Linked DNA regions of Homo sapiens: all the other regions are linked to region 1. Evidence: promoter capture Hi-C in 16 types of primary human blood cells and fetal thymus (Javierre and others, 2016). All regions are on one chromosome and are shown on one strand. Each heading gives the region's core, a stretch centred on a gene start or on the middle of the fragment in contact. The rest is flanking DNA. Distances are from core to core; before and after follow the strand shown.

The links. Contacts are between HindIII fragments. The CHiCAGO score rates a contact against its expected background, and 5 or more counts as called.
Region 2: a fragment that was not itself captured here is called in contact with the fragment with the promoter of SAAL1 in region 1 in 1 of 17 cell types (total B cells); the score reaches 7.8 in total B cells.
Region 3: a contact is called between the fragment with the promoter of PIK3C2A here and the fragment with the promoter of SAAL1 in region 1, in 5 of 17 cell types (total B cells, total CD8 T cells, fetal thymus and 2 more). The highest score is 15.8, in total B cells.
Region 4: a fragment that was not itself captured here is called in contact with the fragment with the promoter of SAAL1 in region 1 in 3 of 17 cell types (total CD4 T cells, non-activated CD4 T cells and total CD8 T cells); the score reaches 8.1 in total CD4 T cells.
Region 5: a contact is called between a fragment that was not itself captured here and the fragment with the promoter of SAAL1 in region 1, in 10 of 17 cell types (naive CD4 T cells, total B cells, naive B cells and 7 more). The highest score is 13.6, in naive CD4 T cells.
Region 6: a contact is called between a fragment that was not itself captured here and the fragment with the promoter of SAAL1 in region 1, in 5 of 17 cell types (naive CD8 T cells, activated CD4 T cells, total CD4 T cells and 2 more). The highest score is 8.1, in naive CD8 T cells.

What each region holds. Positions count from the first base shown.
Region 1 is chr11:18,104,310-18,107,492 of GRCh38, forward strand. It overlaps SAAL1 (serum amyloid A like 1), which reads right to left and starts at 1,773. Exons shown (of 12, transcript NM_138421.3): 1 at 1,598-1,773. The coding sequence starts at 1,732. It also overlaps the pseudogene HIGD1AP5. RefSeq lists enhancers at 1,519-1,778, 1,929-1,978. The HindIII fragment of the contact is 5,763 bases long and covers 129-3,183 here.
Region 2 is chr11:18,630,571-18,633,656 of GRCh38, forward strand. The region is part of intron 1 of SPTY2D1 (SPT2 chromatin protein domain containing 1); the gene reads right to left. Among named protein-coding and RNA genes, the nearest start is that of SPTY2D1, 2.2 kb to the right of the region's middle. RefSeq lists a silencer at 2,757-2,936. The HindIII fragment of the contact is 1,370 bases long and covers 1,098-2,467 here.
Region 3 is chr11:17,206,631-17,209,712 of GRCh38, forward strand. It overlaps PIK3C2A (phosphatidylinositol-4-phosphate 3-kinase catalytic subunit type 2 alpha), which reads right to left and starts at 1,356. Exons shown (of 33, transcript NM_002645.4): 1 at 1,218-1,356. RefSeq lists enhancers at 623-1,146, 1,147-1,669, 1,175-1,284 and silencers at 815-1,074, 1,425-1,504. The HindIII fragment of the contact is 7,601 bases long and covers 1,317-3,082 here.
Region 4 is chr11:18,804,922-18,808,113 of GRCh38, forward strand. No RefSeq gene overlaps it. Among named protein-coding and RNA genes, the nearest start is that of PTPN5, 15 kb to the left of the region's middle. The HindIII fragment of the contact is 1,809 bases long and covers 591-2,399 here.
Region 5 is chr11:18,756,393-18,759,854 of GRCh38, forward strand. The region is part of intron 3 of PTPN5 (protein tyrosine phosphatase non-receptor type 5); the gene reads right to left. Among named protein-coding and RNA genes, the nearest start is that of IGSF22, 32 kb to the left of the region's middle. The HindIII fragment of the contact is 230 bases long and covers 1,457-1,686 here.
Region 6 is chr11:18,774,715-18,777,971 of GRCh38, forward strand. The region is part of intron 1 of PTPN5 (protein tyrosine phosphatase non-receptor type 5); the gene reads right to left. Among named protein-coding and RNA genes, the nearest start is that of PTPN5, 15 kb to the right of the region's middle. RefSeq lists an enhancer at 968-1,262. The HindIII fragment of the contact is 8,027 bases long and covers 1-3,257 here.

The DNA.
Region 1 (3,183 bases), core at 523-3,022:
CAAAAATCTTCTTTTAAAAATGTAGTACCTTGGGTAGATCTACTCTTTCAACATTCACAAAGTAAATACTGTTGCTAGGCACTGGGGTAGATATACAAAGACAAGTAAGATATAATCCCTTACATTTAAGCTTTTTTTTTTTTTTAACTTTTAGGATCTAGTGGGGAAAGACATGTAAAGGGATAGTCATATTAGAAAAGGCAAAGTGATTCAACTGAATTGTGGACAAAGAGTTCTGGTAGCAAAAACGATGGACCAATGACCTATTCCTAGGAGAAGATGGGGAACCTTCCCTTAGGTGCTGATATTTAAGCTAAATTTTAAAGGAAGAATAGTAGTTTGTCATGTGAAGAAGGAGAGAAGTGAGTATTCAGAGGAAAGCACAAGAGTTCAGAGTTAAGAAAGGGCCTAGCATGTTTGGGGATGGTGAACAGTTCAGAGTTGATGGAACACAGTGTATCATGAGAAGATGAGGCTGGAAAATGTACAAACAGCCCTGGATTCCAAACTTCAAGAAACATGCATTTTTCTCCCAGGCAAAAAGAACTAAGAGCAGTATCATGAATAGCCCTGTCTTTAAAGAAGATTATTCTGGCAGCTGTGTAGAAAATTGACTGGAGAGGATAGACAATAGGAGGAGAGGAACCAATTAGGGAAACATGGGGGGAAGAAAACACATTTACTGACAGCCTCCTATAAGCCAAACACCATGCTAAGCACTCTGTTGCCATTATAATCTCACTTAACCTACACAATAACCTTATATATAATATAAATATTATAATCCCATTTTATAGAAATTAAGGGACAAATAGAGGTTCTGAGCCGTTAGGTGACCTGCAGCTAGTGGGTAAGGAAGCTGCGTTTTTTGTTTTTTTGAGACAGGGTCTTACTCCGTCCCCCAGCCTGGAGTGCAGAAGCTGGATCATAGCTCACTGCAGCCTCCAACTTCAGGCTCAAGCGATCCTCCAGCCTCAGCCTCCTGAGTCGCTGGGACTACAGGCGTGCACCGTCACGACCGGCTTTTTTTTTTTTTTTTTTTTAAGTTTGTAGAAACCAGGTCTATGTTGCCCAGGCTGGTCTCAAACTCCTGGCTCAAGCGATCCTTCCGCCTCGGCCTCCCAAAGTGTTGGGATTACAGAGGTGAGCCACCGCGCCTGGTCAGAAGCCACGTTTTTAATATAAAAGTTGTATAACCCTAAAGTCACCATTTATTCTATTACAACGATAGTCCATGAAATACATAAATTAAGGACCTGGGCTTCAGAAATGACAGTGGGGATGGGGAGCAAAACCCGAGGAATGCAGTTACACGATCATGTATTTTTGGAGAACTTGGGAAAGCAAAATAGAACGGCAAGTATTTCAGCATCCCTACCATTATACTTCCCTTTGTGTCGAGAGACCCCGAGGGGGCCCAGATAGTTTTGGGGTCCGCAGCGGCCGGCGAAACGCAAGGAGCAAGGTCCCGCAGCGCACGCCTGGGGAGGGGTCTTTGTGGGGATGGCGGCTCCCGGGGCAGGAGGATTCGCCAGAGGCGGAGCCCCGGTGCCTGGGGGATGTAGGGACACCCCACGCGTGGCGCGAGTTTCCACACCTGGATGAGTCCGCTGAGGACGCCGAAGAGCCAGTGTTTGCTGTAGACCGTGCTCCCTATGCAGTCTCCACCGGCCACCTCCTCCTCCTCCTCCTTGTCGCGACCCGGCGGCGGCGGCGAGGGGTTGCGGTCCATGACTTTGTCGCGTCCCGCGCTTGAAGGCCGTGCCGGAAGCTGCGGAGGAGACGACCGGCGCCCTAGTGCCAGAGCGCCCGGCGTACCCGGTGGGACTCCCCCTACAGCGCCATCTGCTGTTCGGAGCCTGGCCAGCTGCCAAGGCGGCTTGACCTCCCCCACCCCATCCTATCGAGGACCCTGGCACGAACATACTCATAATTATTTGTCACCCTCACTGAATCAGGTGTTCCATTTCTCCAGGAGCTCTTAGACTGATTGAAGAAGGAAGGGTGGGGAGCAGTGAGGAAGCCTCAGGAACAGATGTGAATCTCAAAGCTAGCGGACTTATTCTATTCGCCTTCTGATCTATGTTGCCCAGGCTGGTCTCGAACTTCTGGCTCAAGCAATCCTTCTGCCTCGGCCTCCCAAAGTGTTGGGATTACAAACGTGAGCCACCGCGCCTGGTCAGAAGCCACTTTTTTTATATAAAAGTTGTATAACCCTAATAATATAATCCTCTGATCTCTGGCCACTGTTGCCATTCCTAAAAATATCCGTAGGGGAAGCTGGATGGCTTGTGAGGGATTCCAGGGATCCAAAGTGATTCGAAAAACTAAAGAGGCACCATTTGTCCCCATTGGAATGGCAGGTTTTGCAGTAGTTGCTGCATACGGATTATACAAATTGAAAAGCAGGGGAAATACTAAAATATCACGTCACCTGATCCACATGCGTGTGGCAGTCCAGCTTTGTTGTAGGAGCAATGACTGTTGGTATGGGCTATTCCATGTATCCGGATTTCTATGCAAAACTTAAACCTTAGAAGAAGAGATGTTGTCTTTGTCTTGTTGGAGGAGCTTGACTCATTAATGAGTCATCTCATTATTGAAGTTACATGTTTATGTTGAACATAAATTATTTGGGTAGGTTCAGATGATACTACGGTATTTTGAATAGTCGCTTCCTTTCGTGTAGGCTTGATTTGCCTGGTGACCAAATTATTAGTGACTAGTTCACTAACTAGATCATTCCGGGGAGCCAAGTTAACACACAAGAAACACGTCACCTAAATGCGCTTGATGGTGTTAAAATGTCCAACTTCTTAAACTGTTAAGATGAAATTAATACTAAGGAAGATAGCAGGCCAATCCTGAAGTACTCCCAGTTTGCTGCAGAATCTTGCATGTTTCGAATGTTAAGAGTCCAATTTACTCCAGTTAATTTAACTTTTTTTCTGTCTGTCTTGTGGACTGGTTGGCTCTTTTAGAACTCTTTAAAAAAAAGTGCATGAAATATAACTTGTAAAGCCTCCTACAACTGACAGTATTGTGTGCGTGTGTTTAAACCGAATCTAGAAACCTTACAACAGACCTGCATAGTATTAGTATTGATTAAAGAACCACAATTGTAAACATGAGAAAACCTTAATTATGGATTTCAGTTTAGCACTTTTGTAATTGCAGAATTAC
Region 2 (3,086 bases), core at 533-3,032, 530 kb after region 1:
TTACCATAGTAAAGGTCTGACCCAAGAACTCTGAAGACTGAAATTCTGAGCATTAGCTCTGATAGGTTCCAAATGAAGGTGGGAGAAGAAGTTGGCGAACAGGGAAAAATGAACCAATCAATAGAGAGAGATGCAGCCTAGTTAGTTATTGCAAAGCCTCTGTGGTTCTCAGATCAATTAATCAAGTAAATTTATAACAGCAGGGTGTGTATAGGGCAGGGAGGGATGTAGCTGTCTTTTTTTATTTTATTTTATTTTTCTTTTCATTTGAGACAGAGTCTCGCTCTGTCACCCCGGCTGGAGTGCAGTGGCACGATCTCCACTCACTGCAACCTCTGTCTTACTGCAACCTCCGCCTCTCAAGTTCAAGCCATTCTCCTGCCTCAGCCTCCTGAGTAGCTGAGATTACAGGTGTGCCCCACCATGCCTGGCTAATTTTTGCATTTTTAGTAGAGACGGGGTTTCACCACATTGGCCAGGCTGGTCTCAAACTCCTGATCTCAGGTGATCTGCCCACCTTGGCCTCCCAAAGTGCTGGGATTAAAGGTGTGAGCCACAGCACCCAGCCAGAAATAAAGCTGTTAATTGATACGATAGTCCCCAACTCTCTCTTTGTTTTTAATAATTGTGAAAATCATAGACATAGTGTACAGGGTAACAGATTATTAGAAAGCAAGTATCCTTTTAAGCTACCATCGAAGTCAAGAAACATTTCAAGACAGGCCTGGCTCAGTGGTTCACACCTGTACTCACAGCAGTCTGGGAGGCTGAGGTGGGCTGATCACTTGAGGCCAGGAGTTTGATACCAGCCCTATCTCTACTAAAAATACAAAAAAATTAACTGGGCGTGGTGGTGCACCCCTGTATTCCCAGCTACTCAGGAGGCTGAGGCAGGAGAATGGCTTGAACCTGCGAGGCGGAGCTTGCAGTGAGCCAAGATTTCGCCACTGCACTCCAGCCTGGGCAACAGAGACTCCATCTCAAAAAAAAGAAAAGAAAAGAAAAAGCTTTATTTCTTTTAAAATAGATAACAAAAAAAAAAAAAAAACCACCAAACACTTTATTTCTTTTAAAATAGATGGCAAAAAAAGAAAAAAAGCTTTATTTCTTTTAAAATAGATGGAATAAATATGGGGAAATGTTAATATGCTAAATACGGGGTTTGGGTATATTAGAAATGTGTTAACATTCCTTATGTTTGAAAGTGTCCAAATTACTTTAAGCTGATAAGGAAAAAGTAAATAGAACAGTTAGATGAATCAAGTTAAAGCAAATCAAGTAAAGCATGAAATTTGGCCGGGTGTGGTGGCTCACACCTGTAATTTCAGCACTTTGGGAAGCCGAGGTGGGCGAATGACTTGAGGAAGGAGTTCAAGACCAGCCTGGCCAACATGGTGAAACCCTGTCTCTACCAAAAATACAAAAGTTAGCTTGATGTGGTGACAGGTGCCTGTAGTCCCAGTTACTCAAGAGGCTGAGACAGGAGAATTGCTTGAACTCAGCAGGTGGAGGCTGCAGTGAGCCGAGACCATGCCACTGCACTCCAGCCTCCAGCCCGGACGACAGAGTGAGACTCTATCTTAAAAAAAAAAAAAAAGAAGAAGAAGAAATTTAACTACAGTCTTATCCTATTCCTCAATAGTTTCTTTTGTGACTTTAATTCCACATAAAAAGATAAGAATTATAATGCTGGTAACTAAATCAAACTTCTAGGCTTACTAGCTTTGGCGGGGAGAGGTCAGAGAATGCATGATTCATAAAATATATGGCTATATTATCTATTGATTTTTTTTTTTTTGAAATGAAGTTTTTCTCTTGTTGCCCAGGCTGGAGTGCAATCGCACGATCTCAGCTCACTGCAATCTCCGCCTCCTGGGTTCAAGCAATTCTGTCTCAGCCTCCCAAGTAGCTGGGATTACAGGCGCACACCACCATGCCCGGCTAATTTTTGTATTTTTAGTAGAGATGGGGTTTCATCATATTTGTCAGGCTGGTCTCAAACTCCTGACTTCAGGTGATTCTCCCGCCTAGGCCTCCCAAAGTGCTGGGATTACAGGCCTGAGCCATTGCGCCCATCTATTAAATTTTAAATTACTTTTTTCCCCTTTTTGATTCTTCTGTTATTCCAATCATAGATAATGCATATATTATGACATATACACATATTTTGAAATTTTCTGCTTTAGGATTATCTGTCTGCTTTTCTCCCAGCAGCTACTGGCTTTCAGAATAAGAAATGACTTAGTTCTGATTCTTCCACAGAACAGTACTGGGCATCAAAGCTAGTACTATCTTTGACCTTTACTGAAATTCAATAAGATCTAGAATGAAATACAGACCAAATTATGCAAAGATGAATGGTTACTAGACCCAATATTGATTCATCTGGAAAATTTACAGATGCTTCTAGAAAGTAAATCTGTTGATCTGGGTTTCAAAGGTTTGAGTCTATACCTTCAACATGCAAAGCTTATGACTCACGGCTTAGAGGAATGGTTATTCAGAGTTCTTGGGATAAGGGATGGCTGTGTGTGTGTATATATACATATATTTATAAACATAAATATAGACCTTTTTCAGATCAATATTTTCAAAGGGATAAAAGAATGAACTAGCCTCAGAAGACAAAAAAAAGCTGCAGAAGAGAAAAAAACGAATATTGCAATATACGAATATCTAGGAAATGCAGAGCACTTCGTCGGAGCTCAATAAATTCTAGCTGAATTGACTTTGAGAGCCGTTTTAGTTCTATACCTCACTGCTCAAACCGCAGGCATCACCATGCAACTTATCGGTTTACAGCTGTGCTGTGGGTACCATCTGAAAATCTGGAAATGATTAGCTTATGCAAAACAGCCATAACCCCCAGAAACCAGGCGCTCTCCACCACTTTACCATTTAAGTCTTACACCGCTCTTGCGACTGTAAGCGAACTGACAAACATCTACTGACCAAATGGGACCTAGATTTTAAACAAAGACTGAAATCTGGAAGGCTACAAGTAAACAGAAGCTGAAACTAGCTCACCTATTCTGTTGGCCAAGGATTTCGTGGAATCTGCTAAACTTCTCTTCCCAAAAGATGAT
Region 3 (3,082 bases), core at 106-2,605, 900 kb before region 1:
GCTAAAGGAGTCTCTTGTGGAGACTTGAACCACAAGCCAAGGAGGCAAAGGTACAAAGTCTCTCCTGGAATTAGTTCCTGGACTTCTGTGCAGCCTTCCCTCTTTCTACTATGTCTTCACCGTTCCCCTACAAACAGCTTTCTTCTTCTTGCATCTCTTATATGCTGTGGCCTTTGATGCTACAATAGATTTAAAAATTTTCCCAACAGAGCTTTTCTGCCTGAAACCCACCAGGAAAGATTTCAGGACATTCTTTAATAACTAATCTTGTTCAAAGAGGCAGGCCTCCTTCGTTTCACTTAATTCAAACCCCCACTGTTCAAAATAAGAATATAATTATAACCTCAATTTCTATCGGGCCAGTATAGGAAAAGAACTACAACAGGCTCTCTCTTCCACGTTATGTCCAGACTTTTTTCCTTAGTTTCTCCTTCCTCATTTCCCTCCTCAATCCCTCCTCCCCCAAAAAATAATTCCACAGCTAGAGAATGTCGTTTTTAAAGCCAGAAATTCAGTGAGGAAAATAAGTATGTGCCTTTTTCTTCAATTATTTATGATTCCTCCGTCACTCAGGAAGAGTTAAGCTAGTATTTTTTAATCTGACCGCTCTCTCAGAAGGATGATGCGCTAAATACACACTGAAAGAATAGTGTTCCCAAAGCAAGTGGATTCGCGGCTAAAGGCAACGCGGTGGGAGTGGGGGGTCCGGGAAGAAGAAAAAGTATCCTTGGCCCCCAGAGCCAGAGATGGGACAGGAGGTGAAAGAAGGGGCCGTCACTGAGAAGTACAACACACACACTCGCCAGAACTAACAATCTGCCAAGAAAATAGGACCGGCCACTGCGGCTCCAGCCCGGTCCCGCGGGACAAGGCGGGGGAGGGGGGCCGGCGGCCGGGGGGCCTGCCCTCCTTCTGTGGGACAAAACTAACTCCCTGGCGCACCTCCGCTCCCGAGAAGAGGGGCCTGGTGGGGACGCGGGCTCCTCGCACCTCCAGCGCAGCACTTGCTCACGGCCTGGGTGGAAGCAAGGCCCGGAGGGAGGGGGGAGTCGGGCTGGGCAACGCCAAGAGCACGGGATGGAGGGTCAGACGCGGGCACCCAAGGCACTGGGGGCCGCGACAAGAGACCCTTCCAGCCCGGGAACCCCGGGGCCCCTCTCCACCCTTGCAGAGCAGGACCCCGAATATCGTCCCCAGCCGCACCGACCGCTCCTCACCTCAAGCTGCCTGAGCCTCCGCCTCTACCACAACCTGAGCCGCCGAAGCCGCCACAGTCCGAGCCATTTTTCCCCTCAGCTGGCTCAGCCGCCGCCGAAAGCTTCGGCCGACTCCACAGCCAGCCAAGCGCAGCACGTCACTTCCGGACAGGGAAGCACCGCCTTCCCCGCCCGGACTTGTTGCGAATTGGCTGGCGCGGACGGCCTACCTGAGCTGGCGGGCGGGGCTTGGACGCTGCCGGGGTGGCGTGAGCAAGGGAGCTGGGGCGCTGGGGCGCACGGGCCCGGGGGACCAGGGTCTGGCTCTCTCCCGAGGAATGCTGAGCAGGCTCTGGACGCCTCTCCGTGCACACCCCAGACCTGGGGAGGGGAGCTCTCCGGACACCCCAGCTGGCCGCCCCTCGGGCCCTGAGTCCGAAGACCCGCTAAACAGGGCCCGGGCACTGAAGTACCCTATTGTTCTCATCCCCTCTCCCGGGACCCCGCACCCTCCTCCATCTAGGCTGAGGTTCCCAGATTTGTGTCTTGGCCCCTGGCGGCGCCGAGATTACTTTGTGATTGGAAGACTGAAAGGAACAGGCAAGACTTAAACTCGTCCACTCCAACCAGTATTTACCGAGGCCTCACGGTGGGTCAGGTGGTATACGGTGGGTAATTAGTAGCCTATCACGTGGTTTCTGTAAAATGCTTGATAGCACGTAAAACGCTTTCAGGTCGGCGTCTCGTTTCATCCTCACAACAGCCAGGTAAGGAAGATAACCCCCTGATAATAACTCACAGCCAGACGGCTCTTTCTACATTACAAAGTATTTTCACATGCAACCTCCATAATAATATATTCTTATTGAGAATTTAATGAGATTATGCTTGTAAAGCGTTTGGTCCTCACGTGTTAGATCTAAAAATTACGTAACCATGGGAAGATATAGGAAAATTATCCCCATTTACAGATGGGGCTTCTGGGGCACAAAGATGTTAAGGGGAGAGGAACGATTCCATAGCGTTTTACAACAAGATTGTCTTTTAAGCAGTAGGAGAAGGGGGTCCACACCATCCAGACGTTCACAATCTGATGTGGCAGACTGATTTAGGCTGCATTTCTCAGCCTAAACTAAAAATTATCAGCCTATATGATATACGCATAATTAGAAGGCTCTAAGAGAAGTTGAACTTTCAGCAAATAACTGGAAAGAAAGAAATTGGCCTGATTTGGCAGGGACGGGGGTTGGCGAAAGGGGGCTAGGGCAATGGGGAATGTGGAGTGGATGAATCCCTCATAGCGCTGTAATAAACATGCCTGCACCTCCGCAGGGATGGTAAAATTGGATGGAGTTTCTATTCTATGGGGAATTCTAGAAACAAATGTGATTATTTCTTACGGCTGTAGCTACTGGCTGTTGTACACCCCCCCCCCTTCCAACTCCTATCTTTCCCCCAACCCCGCCCCTCCTCTATGCACACACACTTCCAGGCAGGCTACACACTCTAGAAGAATGTCCCTTAGAAATCAACTTAGTTCCGCAGCATTGTTCTGCTTTATCTTCTGATCAAAGGAGGAATTTCTAAAATTGGCAGCAGCTCTTTCACAAGATTAAAAAGGGTGGGGAAAGTGATTTATCTCAGGGTAGCTTCCTAGCTTCTGCTCCAGATCTGAGTGTGCCTTCAGGAAAGAAGGAAGAGGCCTTGGGAGAACACTGAGTCTTCAGGAAAGAGTAACTATTTGTCTGTCTTTTTTTTTTCTTTTGTTTTCTTTCTTTCTTTCTTTCTTTCTTTCTTTCTTTCTTTTTCTTTCTTTCTTTTTCTTTCTCTTTCTTTATTCCTCTCTCCCTCTCTCTCTTTCTTCCTTTCTTTTTTTTTGATCCAGC
Region 4 (3,192 bases), core at 245-2,744, 700 kb after region 1:
CTAGTCTACTCCAACTGTTGTAAGAGTGTAACCTAGTCTATTCTGACTAATATAGTAACATGTTTACCTTAGTAATAAAAAGAATTGTTACCATTTTATAAAATGTAATCAATTAAACAAGTACCGTATTCAAAAATTTTCATGTCAGAATTTCAGAAAGTCACATTAAATTACATTTGTAATAAATGATCATGCTATGCCTGGTTTAAAATCAAGATCACTTTTTCAATTAAGAGATATTGATTTGTGATAAATTGTTAACTGAACCATAGACTTGTAATATTGGCAGGAACCTCAAAATTTCATTTTGCATATCCCACCCACAAGTTCATATACGGGTATGTCTAAACCATCCAATACAACTGAGTTGTCTAAACCAATGGGTTCCAAAACTTCCATCATCAGAAATATTATAACTTAAATAAAAGAGGAGACTCCTAAGTCAGACTTCTGGAATTTTGGTTAAGGAGATCTAGGACAGGACCTGGGAAATGGCATTTTAAAAACTGTACCATGTGATTTCAGTCACAGGGAGGATTGGGAATCCCTGGTCCAGAACATAACTTTCAAATGATCATTACTTCAATTTAAGCTTCACTTAAACTTTGTGCCCATGTTGAAATTGAGATCACTTTTGTAATTTCAGGCCACGTTCTCCAGAAGCAGAATCTGAGGTGGGGATTCATGTGCATGTGATTTACTAAGGAGTGCTCTCAGGGGAAGCCTGTAAGGGAATGGGGAAAGGAGGACAGGGAAGGGGAAGAATCAGGAACACATTCTATGATTTAATGATTTGAAAATGAAACAAACATTTTATTAAATACAGAAATGATGGTATGGTGGAAAAAACATGGGCTTCAGAATTAGATAGACCTGACATTAAAAAATTTAAATTATTAATACTATGTTAGATTGACAAACCATAATTGTATACATTTATGATGTAAAATGTGAAGTTTTAATATAGGTATACAATGTGGCATTAATAAATTAAGCTAATTAACATATCAATCACCTTTCTTGCCTATCATTTTTTAAGGTGAGACATTTGAAATGTACTTATTATGAAATATATTATATAATACATTGTTATTGATTATAGTCAGCCTTCTGTGCAATAGATCTCAAAATCCTTTCCTCTTATGTAATCTGGGTCTTGGTACTCTTTCATCAGCAACTGTTCATTTCCTCCCTCCCCTCTTCCTCAGCATCTGGTAACCATTATTCTACTGTCTACTTCTATGAATTCACATATTTACATTTCACTTATAAGGAAATCGTGAGGTATTTGTCTTTCTGTGCCTGGCTTTTTCACTTACCACAATGTCTTCCAGATTAATCCATGTTGTTGCAAATGACAATATTTCCCCCATTTTAAAGGCTGAATAGTAGTCCATTGAATATGTACACCATATTTCTCTTTATCTGTTGATGGAAACTTAGATCGTTCTCCTACCTTAGCCATTGTGAATAATGCTACAATGAATGTGAGAGTGGAGATACCCCTTCAACATACTGATTTCAGTTTCTTTTTTTGAGACGGAGTCCTGCTCTGTCACCCAGCTTGGAGTGCAGTGGAGCAATCTCAGCTCACTGCAACCTCTGACTCCTGGGTTCAAGTGATTCTTTTCCCTCAGCCTCCCGAGTAGCTGGGCTTACAGGCACCCACCACCACACCAGGCTAATTTTTTTGTATATTTAGTAGAGACAGGGTTTCGCCGTATTGGCCAGGCTGGTCTCGAGCACCTGACCTCAGGTGATCTGGCCACCTCAGCCTCCCAAAGTGTAATTTCAGCTTCTTATTAATATATACCCAGAAAGGAGATTACCGAGTCCTATAGTATTTCTATTTGTAATACTTGGAGAAAACTCCATACTGTTTTTCATAACAGCTGTACTAATTTACATTCCCATCAACAGTATATAAGAGTTCCATTTTTCTCTGAATCCTCTCTAACACTTGATATCTTATCTCTTTGATAAAAGCCATTCTAACAGGTATGGGGGATAGTTCATTGTGGCTTTAATTTGCATTTGCCTAATGATTAGTGATACTGACCTTTTTTCATGTACCTATTGGTCACTCACATGTCTTTTTTTTTTTTTTTTTTTGAGAAATATCTGTTCAGGCGCTTTGCCCATTTAAAAATTGGGTTATTTATTTTTTTTCTTGCTCTTGAATTGAGTTCCTTACATATTTTATAAATTAACCCCTTATCAGATGTATGGTTTGCAAATATTTCTCCCATTCTATGGGTTGTCTCTTCCTTTTGTTAATTGTTTCCTTTGCTATGCAGAAGTTTTTTACTTTGATGCCATCTCATTTGCCTATTTTTCTTTTTGTTTCTTGTGCTCTTGGGATCCTATCCAAGAAATCCTTGCCCAGAAAATTGTCATGAAGCTTTCCCCCTACGTTTTCTTCTAGTAGCTTTTCAGTTTCAGCTTTATAGTTAAGTCTTTTGCCCATTTTGAGTTGATTTTTGTGTATGGTGTAAGATAAAGGTCTAATTTCTTTCTTCTGTGTGTGGATGTGCAGTTTTTCTAATACCATTTATTGAAGAGATGTTCTTTCCCCATTGTGTATTCTTGGCATGCTTGTCAAAAATCAGTTGACTGTAAATGCAAGGGTTATTTCTGGGTTTTCTAGCCTGTCCTACTGGTCAGTGTGTCTGTTGTATGCCAGTACAATGCTGTTTTGATTGCATTGCTTTACATGTTTCGAAATCAGAAAGTGTGATGCCTCCAGCCTTGTTCTTTTTTTTTAATTAATTAATTTATTTTTTTTGAGATGGAGTCTCACTCTGTCGCCCAGGCTGGAGTGCAGTGGCGCAATCTTGGCTCACTGCAACCTTTGCCTCCCTGCAACCTTTGCCTCCCAGGTTCAAGTGATTCTCCTGCCTCAGCCTCCCAAGTATCTGAGACTACAGGCATGCACCACCACACCTGGCTAATTTTTGTATTTTTAGTAGAGACAGGGTTTCACCATGTTGGCCAGGCTGGTCTTGAACTCCTGACCTCGTGATCTGCCTGCCTTGGCCTCCCAAAGTGCTGGGATTACAGGCATGAGCCACTGCACCTGGCCCAGCCTTGTTCTTTTTGCTCAAGATTGTTTTGGCTATTTGGGGTCTTTTGTGGTTCCATACAAACTTAAGGATTTTTTTCCATTTTGTAAAAAATGACACTGGGGCTGGG
Region 5 (3,462 bases), core at 322-2,821, 650 kb after region 1:
TTCAAGTGATTCTTGTGCCTTAGCCTCCTGAGTAGCTGGGATTACAGGCACAAGCCATCATGCCTGGCTAGTTTTTGTATTTTCAGTAGAGACAGGGTTTTACCATGTTGGCCAGGCTGGTCTTGAACTCCTGACCTCATGTGACCCACCCGTCTCAGCCTCCCAAAATGCTGGGATTATAGGCTGAGCCACTGCACCCAGCCCATCCTTCAGGTTTTAACCACTTGGAATTAAAAAGAAACAGCACCGGCCGGGCGCGGTGGCTCACGCCTGTAATCCCAGCACTTTGGGAGGCCGAGGCGGGCGGATCATGAGGTCAGGAGATCGAGACCACCCCGGCTAACACGGTGAAACCCCGTCTCTACTAAAAATAAAAAAAAAATTAGCCGGGTTTGGTGGCGTATGCCTGTAATCCCAGCTACTCGGGAGGCTGAGGCAGGAGAATTGCTTAAACCCGGGAGGTGGAGGCTGCAGTGAGCCAAGATCGTGCCACTGCACTCCAGCCTGAGTGACAGAGCAAGACTCCATCAAAAAAAAAAAAAAACCAAAAAACAAAAACAAAACAAAAAGAAACAGCACCAAGGTCCTAATAAACATCCCCACCTGTCCCACACATCATTTTCATATGTGTGTGTGTGAAATTCCAAAGTTTAGAGATGTAAAGTGATTCATGCAAGATCCAAGCTCAAAAAGGGCGGAGTCCAAATTCATTCACATCCAGGGCTTCTGAATCCGACAATAAGAAACCATAAAAAAATGAGCTGTGAATAAGACTTTATGGTTTACAAATCCCCATTCCCATCCATTGTCTCACTGAATTCTTATAACTACCATGAAAAAAATTGCTTTTCTCATTTCACAGTGGAAATGCCTCATGGGAGGGATGGAGCAGTGCAGGGTTTGTCCAAGCCCATCAGTGAAAGGCAATGCCCAATACAAGGGCAGACACACTCAGCACTGTCTTTACACCCAGGAAAATGTCCCTCATCCTGATCTCACACTTTGAAGGGCCCTGCTCCAATCCTCCATCAGGTATGCTCCTCCTCACAGGTAAGGAGTCCAGGGAACCAAAGGGACATTCTCCCTGTAAGGCCACATATTCAAAACCCCAGATTCCCTGGTCAAATGCTCCTCAGCCTGATTCCTGGACCTGGTGGCCCTCTTTTTTGACTGCTTCATGAGAGTACACTGTGCTGTGTGTATTCCTAGAACTGGCTAAGGTGACTGTTTGCAGAAGGTGTGTTTGGAGCTCAGATGTGTGGGCTGGGGTACCCATCTACCCAAGTGCTCATGAGTGTCCTTGTGGTGCTGGACAGAGCAGGGGTGGACTGGAGACTGGCTTTCCCTAGACCCCATATTTTGGTGCAGAACTCAGAATTCTCTATTTGAACCTGGCTTTTAAACTCCCTACAAATGAATATTCGTCAGAGTGGAAGGACAACATATTTCCTTTCAAAGCTTATCAGCTTGCTTTCGAACAGTTAGCTATCTAGACATAACATATACAGCCTTACAAATGTTAGGGGTGGGACTGCACACAGCTGTGCTCTTTGAAGTAGCAGGGAGGAGAGCCAAAGAAAAGAGAAGAGCAAAAGAGCCGAAGATTTAAGCAACAAAGGGTCAGTAGCTCAAATAGTGGAAGGTTGGGGAAAAGAATGAGACATGGGATGAAGGCCAAGGGGAGGAAGCTTTAGGAGAGGATGAAGCTAGTGTTAGGAGGAATGTGAAAGCTTATAAAGAGGATGTGCTGGTGGATGAAGGATGGCCACAGATTCTCTGCACTCCTCCTATCAAGAGGTGGCATTTACTTCCCATCCCTTGGATCTAGGCTGACCCTGTGACTGGCTTTGATCAACAAAATGTAGTGGAGTGACATTGTGTAACTTCTGGAGCTGGGCCTTAAGAGATCTGAAGCTTCTTTTTTGCCCCTCTTAGAGTGCTCCTTCTTGGTAATCACATAAGAAGTCCAACTACCATGAGACCATCATGCTGTGAGGAAGCCCAAGGTAGGAGCACTGAGGTGCCAGACATATAATAAAAGCTTTCTCCGACATTCTATCCCAGCACAGAATGAGGTGTGTTCAGCTGAATGAGTGACCTCAGCTGATGCCACATGGAATGGAAGAATCACCCAGCTAAACCCTGCATGACCCTCCAAGTCATGAGCAAATAAAATGGTTGTTGTTTGAAGCCACTAAGTGTTGAGATCGTCAGGCAGCAACAGACAACCAAAACAGATGCTGAGATCTGAAATGAAGAAATGAGCTTCAATGGAAGGATGAGTTTTTTTTTTTTTTCTTCAGATATAAAGAATTCCTGAGAGCTGGGGTGATTTGTCCCTGAGCCAGACCAAAGAGAAAGGTAATGGCATCTGTCACTGCATATGTTAGGAGTACGATGGATGTCCATTTGTCTAAAAGGGCATTGGCATCAACCTTTGAAGATGCAGGGGACTGGACCAGATGCATTCCTTCTTTCAGTTGCAAAGACTCTCTTTAAGTGTCATCACACATCCAGGCAACTCCCTAGAATATGAGAACTGTTTCTATCCTGGTGAAGGAAAACGGAGGATCATTCTCCCCACCAACCCTGGCCCCTTAAATATGTAAGCATAAAACACTCCTGCCTGTGGCTGTGCTGGTTCAGTGAGGTCTCAGACCTGTGGTGGGGAGTCAAGAAAGGACCACCAGATACACTACCCCACTCCACTGCTGTAGAACTGGCCTGGACCTGACGCCCGAGCCCCAGGCACAGGAACACAAAGAAAGAAAAAACACAAAGGAAAAAAAGGTTTTTTTTCTGTTCACATTCCATATCCTGGAACAACCATCACCGTCACTATTAGCTATCATTTATAGAGCACTCTGTAATAAGCACTTTACGTCCATGAACTCAATTAATCCTCACAAAATCTCTGTGAAGATGTCATCATATTACTACCCTTATTCTAGAGTGAGGAATTTGGAACTCACAGCAGTTAGATAATTTACCACAGGTCATGCTGTTGGTCAATAGCAGAGCTGGGATTTGAACCCAGCTGCCTGGCCATAGCACCCCAAGGCCTAGCTAGATGGGCTCCATCCTGGTGTCTGAGAATAGTTAGCCTCTACTATTGCTGACCAGTGGGCACCTGGGATGGTACTTCTTTTCTCAACACAATGGCATCGTTACAGAATACTGCCCAGTTAGTGTTCTTAGCACATCCAAATGGTGTTTCGTTTATACTTTAATTATCCATTCTGAAGACTCAAGTAAAAAACTCATCGTACCATCAATGACAATAAATATCTCTAAATGTATTTGAAGTCTTGAATGAAAACAGAACCATCAATTCAACAAAGAAATAAAAATCAACAGAACCTCTACCACTGAGTGTTGACAGCTACCGGTGACATCTCAGCAGTACTACTACAACCAGGTCCATCTTCTGGAGGTTTGTCCATTTGGGCTTCTGCACCTGCC
Region 6 (3,257 bases), core at 54-2,553, 670 kb after region 1:
AAATACATCTTTGGGGTGGAGGGTCAGAAATTCACAGTGATTCAGCTCAGACTCTGTGGACCCTCCCAGCCTCTTCTCAGGGCCACTTTGGCTTTCTTTTAAAATCTACACTTTTAAAATTTCATGGTCAGGTTGGTGAGGATGGAAGGGAACAGGAGGAGGTGATCTGAGAGAGAAAGGAAGCAGGAAAAAGGGCAGAAGCAATCTTCGGACCACCTGTTCAGTAACATCTTAGCTCCCGACCGAAGAGGATAACAATGACAGTATCTTCACAACAGAAAGGGCAGCTGTCACTACTGCACCCGGACCACACAGGCCAGGAACTGCTCCAGGGCAGGTGTTAGCAAACTCAGTCCTCACAGCAGCCCCTGGAGGAACGTACTAACGTTTCCTGCATTTTCTAAAGGCGGAAATGGAAATTCAGAGAAGTAAAGTGACCTGCCTAAGGCCACACAGCTAGTTATCACAGAACTTCCCCCATTGCCCACATTCCTAACCTCTCTTTCACTTTTTAGCTTTTGGTAAGAAAAAATATTCCGCAAATACAATAGGAAGAGACAGCATATCATGGCAGTTGCTTTCTATATGTTCTTTTAAAAAATCCTCACCATAAATCTATGTGAGTAGCATGTGATGATCACCATTTTTACAGACGAGAAAACTAAGGCTCAGGGGGTGAAGTGACCCAAGCAAACGAGTGAAGGAGCAAGAGGGAGATCCCTGTGCCTGTGTCCTTGCTTGGGATCACTGCTGTTCTCCCCAGAAGAACGACTGGAAGTCCTGCGCGGGACCACGACCTCGGGTTTCTCCACTTGAAGCAACAGCCCAGGAAGCAGGCCTTGGGAGGCTAGCTTGCATGGGGAGTTTGGGAGGCTGGCTTGGGTGGGGAGCCTGTGTTGGTGGCAGCTGTGTTCCATCAGTGCCATGACGAATACACTCACTGGCCCAGGGCCCAGAAGCCATGGGCTCTAGTCCCAGGCTACTGTGTGACCTTGGGCTAGTCATTTCCCTTATCTGAATCTCAGTAGCTCCAAATGAAAACCAAAGGGCCTGAATGAGATGACCTCTAAGGGCCTTTCCTTAGAGGTCAGGCTTCAATTCCAGGCCTGTCAGGTTTAACGAGGCAGAGGGTGGAACGGCAGTGAACCAGCAGAGGGCGCTCACAGCATCAGGGAAACAGGCCTTGGTCCATGGAGCCCAACCTGCAAGCATGTCCGGCCTGAGCCAATTATTAAGAGAGTCCAGGTTCAGCTGTGATTTGATGCTGTGGATGGTCCTACCTGATTATAAATGGTGCGGCGGTCACGGACCCAAAAGATAGAAAGGCAGGATTTTGGAGTTCAAAGGTTATCCGGTCTGATCCTCTGTTCTCCAAGACTCTGAAAACATTGCATTCTGCTCCCTCTCCCTGCACCTGCCCCCAGGTATGCAGTTTAATTTACCGGGAGAAAACAGGCAATCACAAATGCAAAGGTGTGATCACACTTCTTGTGGGCGTCTTCTGGTATTTCCGTTCAGTTACATGCTTGCTCCTACCTATAATGCTTTAGGATGCACTTTTTCCTCCACTGGAAAGCCCCCTTTTCCCTTCTCTGCTTGGAAAATTCTTATTTGCCTTTTAAGACTCTGTTCAAATGTCACCTCCTCAATAGAACCCTCCCCAACTCCCTTAGGAAGAACTGGGTACTCCGTCTTCTGTTCTTACCCCTCCATACGGTCATTATCTGTTGATGCCAGTCTCCCAGCCTCACACAGAGCTCCCTGGACATAAACCTGTGGTCTGTGATTACCGCAGCTTCCTTTTATTGCAGGCTTATTGTGTGCTGGATGTCGTGCCAAGCACTGCACACGTATGACATCATTCACCTCTCACTAGAACCATATGAGGTAAAAAGTCATCCTCCACCTACACGTGGAGATTGGGACTTGGAGACACTAAGTCACCTGCTCAAGGTCATATAGTTGGTATGTTGCAGAACCAGGCTTCAAACTCAGTTTATCTCAACCCCAGGCTTTATTTAAATCACTAGGTTTACAGCATCTGATATGGACTTTTCTGCTTCCCATGTCCAATACTGTATCTGGCACCAGGCAAATGTTAAAAAAAATGAAAAGTGGGGTAATGTTTGAGCATTTACAAATGGCTCATTAAAAACACCATAAAGGGCCAGGCACGGTGGCTCATGCCTGTAATCCCAGAACTTTGGGAGGCCGAGGTGGGCAGATCACCTGATGTAAGAAGTTTGAGACCAGCCTGACTAACATGGTGAAACCCTGTCTCTACTAAAAATACAAAATTAGCCGGGCGTGGTGGCGGGCGCCTGTAATCCCAGCTACTTGGGAGGCTGAGGCAGGAGAATCACTTGAACCAGAGAGGCGGAAGTTGCAGTGAGCCAAGATTGTGCCACAGCACTCCAGCCTGGGCGACAGAATGAGACTCCATCTCAAAACAAACAAACAAACAAACAACACCATAAAAGTAGTAAACACATAGGCTTTGGCTCTGGACTCCCCCAGTATGAATCAAGGCTCCCCCACTGGCTGCCTGATCTTGGGCAAGATTTTGACTTCTCTGTGCCTCAGTTTCTTCATCTGTGAAGCAAGGATAAATGTGTCTACACTCCAGAGGGTTATAATGGAGATTAAATGAATGTTGATCTTCACACAAAGTTTTTACATGAGATGCATGGAAAATGTGTAGATCAGGGCCAGGAAGCTCCTAAAAATGTTAACTGTCATCATCTTGTGTTTCAGGCTTTGCCTGTTTCCCAGTTAATATAACTTTTCTCCTCCCACGGATAAGGTCCATGAAGACTCTGGGATGAATCTTGCGGAGTGCTGGTAAACCGGTTCTTAACTTTCTCTTTACTGGACCTGAACTGCTGTATCACTGGGAGCAAGATGAAGTAAATGAGATTATTATGCAGGAATTAAAAAAAGAATAATGTAGGCCAGGCATGGTGGCTCACACCTGTAATTCCAGCATTTTAGGAGGCCAAGGCAAGAGGATCACTTGGGGCCATGAGTTCGAGACCAGCTTGGGAAAAACAGTGAGATCCCATCTCACCAAAAAATAATATGTGAGCGGAGCATGGTGGTACACACCTGTAGTCCCAGCTACTCAGCACGCTGAGGCAGGAGGATCGCTTGAGCCCAAGACTTCAAGGTTGCAGTGAGCTATGATCGCACCACTGCATTTCAGCCCAGCTTACAGGGCGAGACCCTGTCAGAAAAAGAAAGGAAGAAAGGAAGGAAGG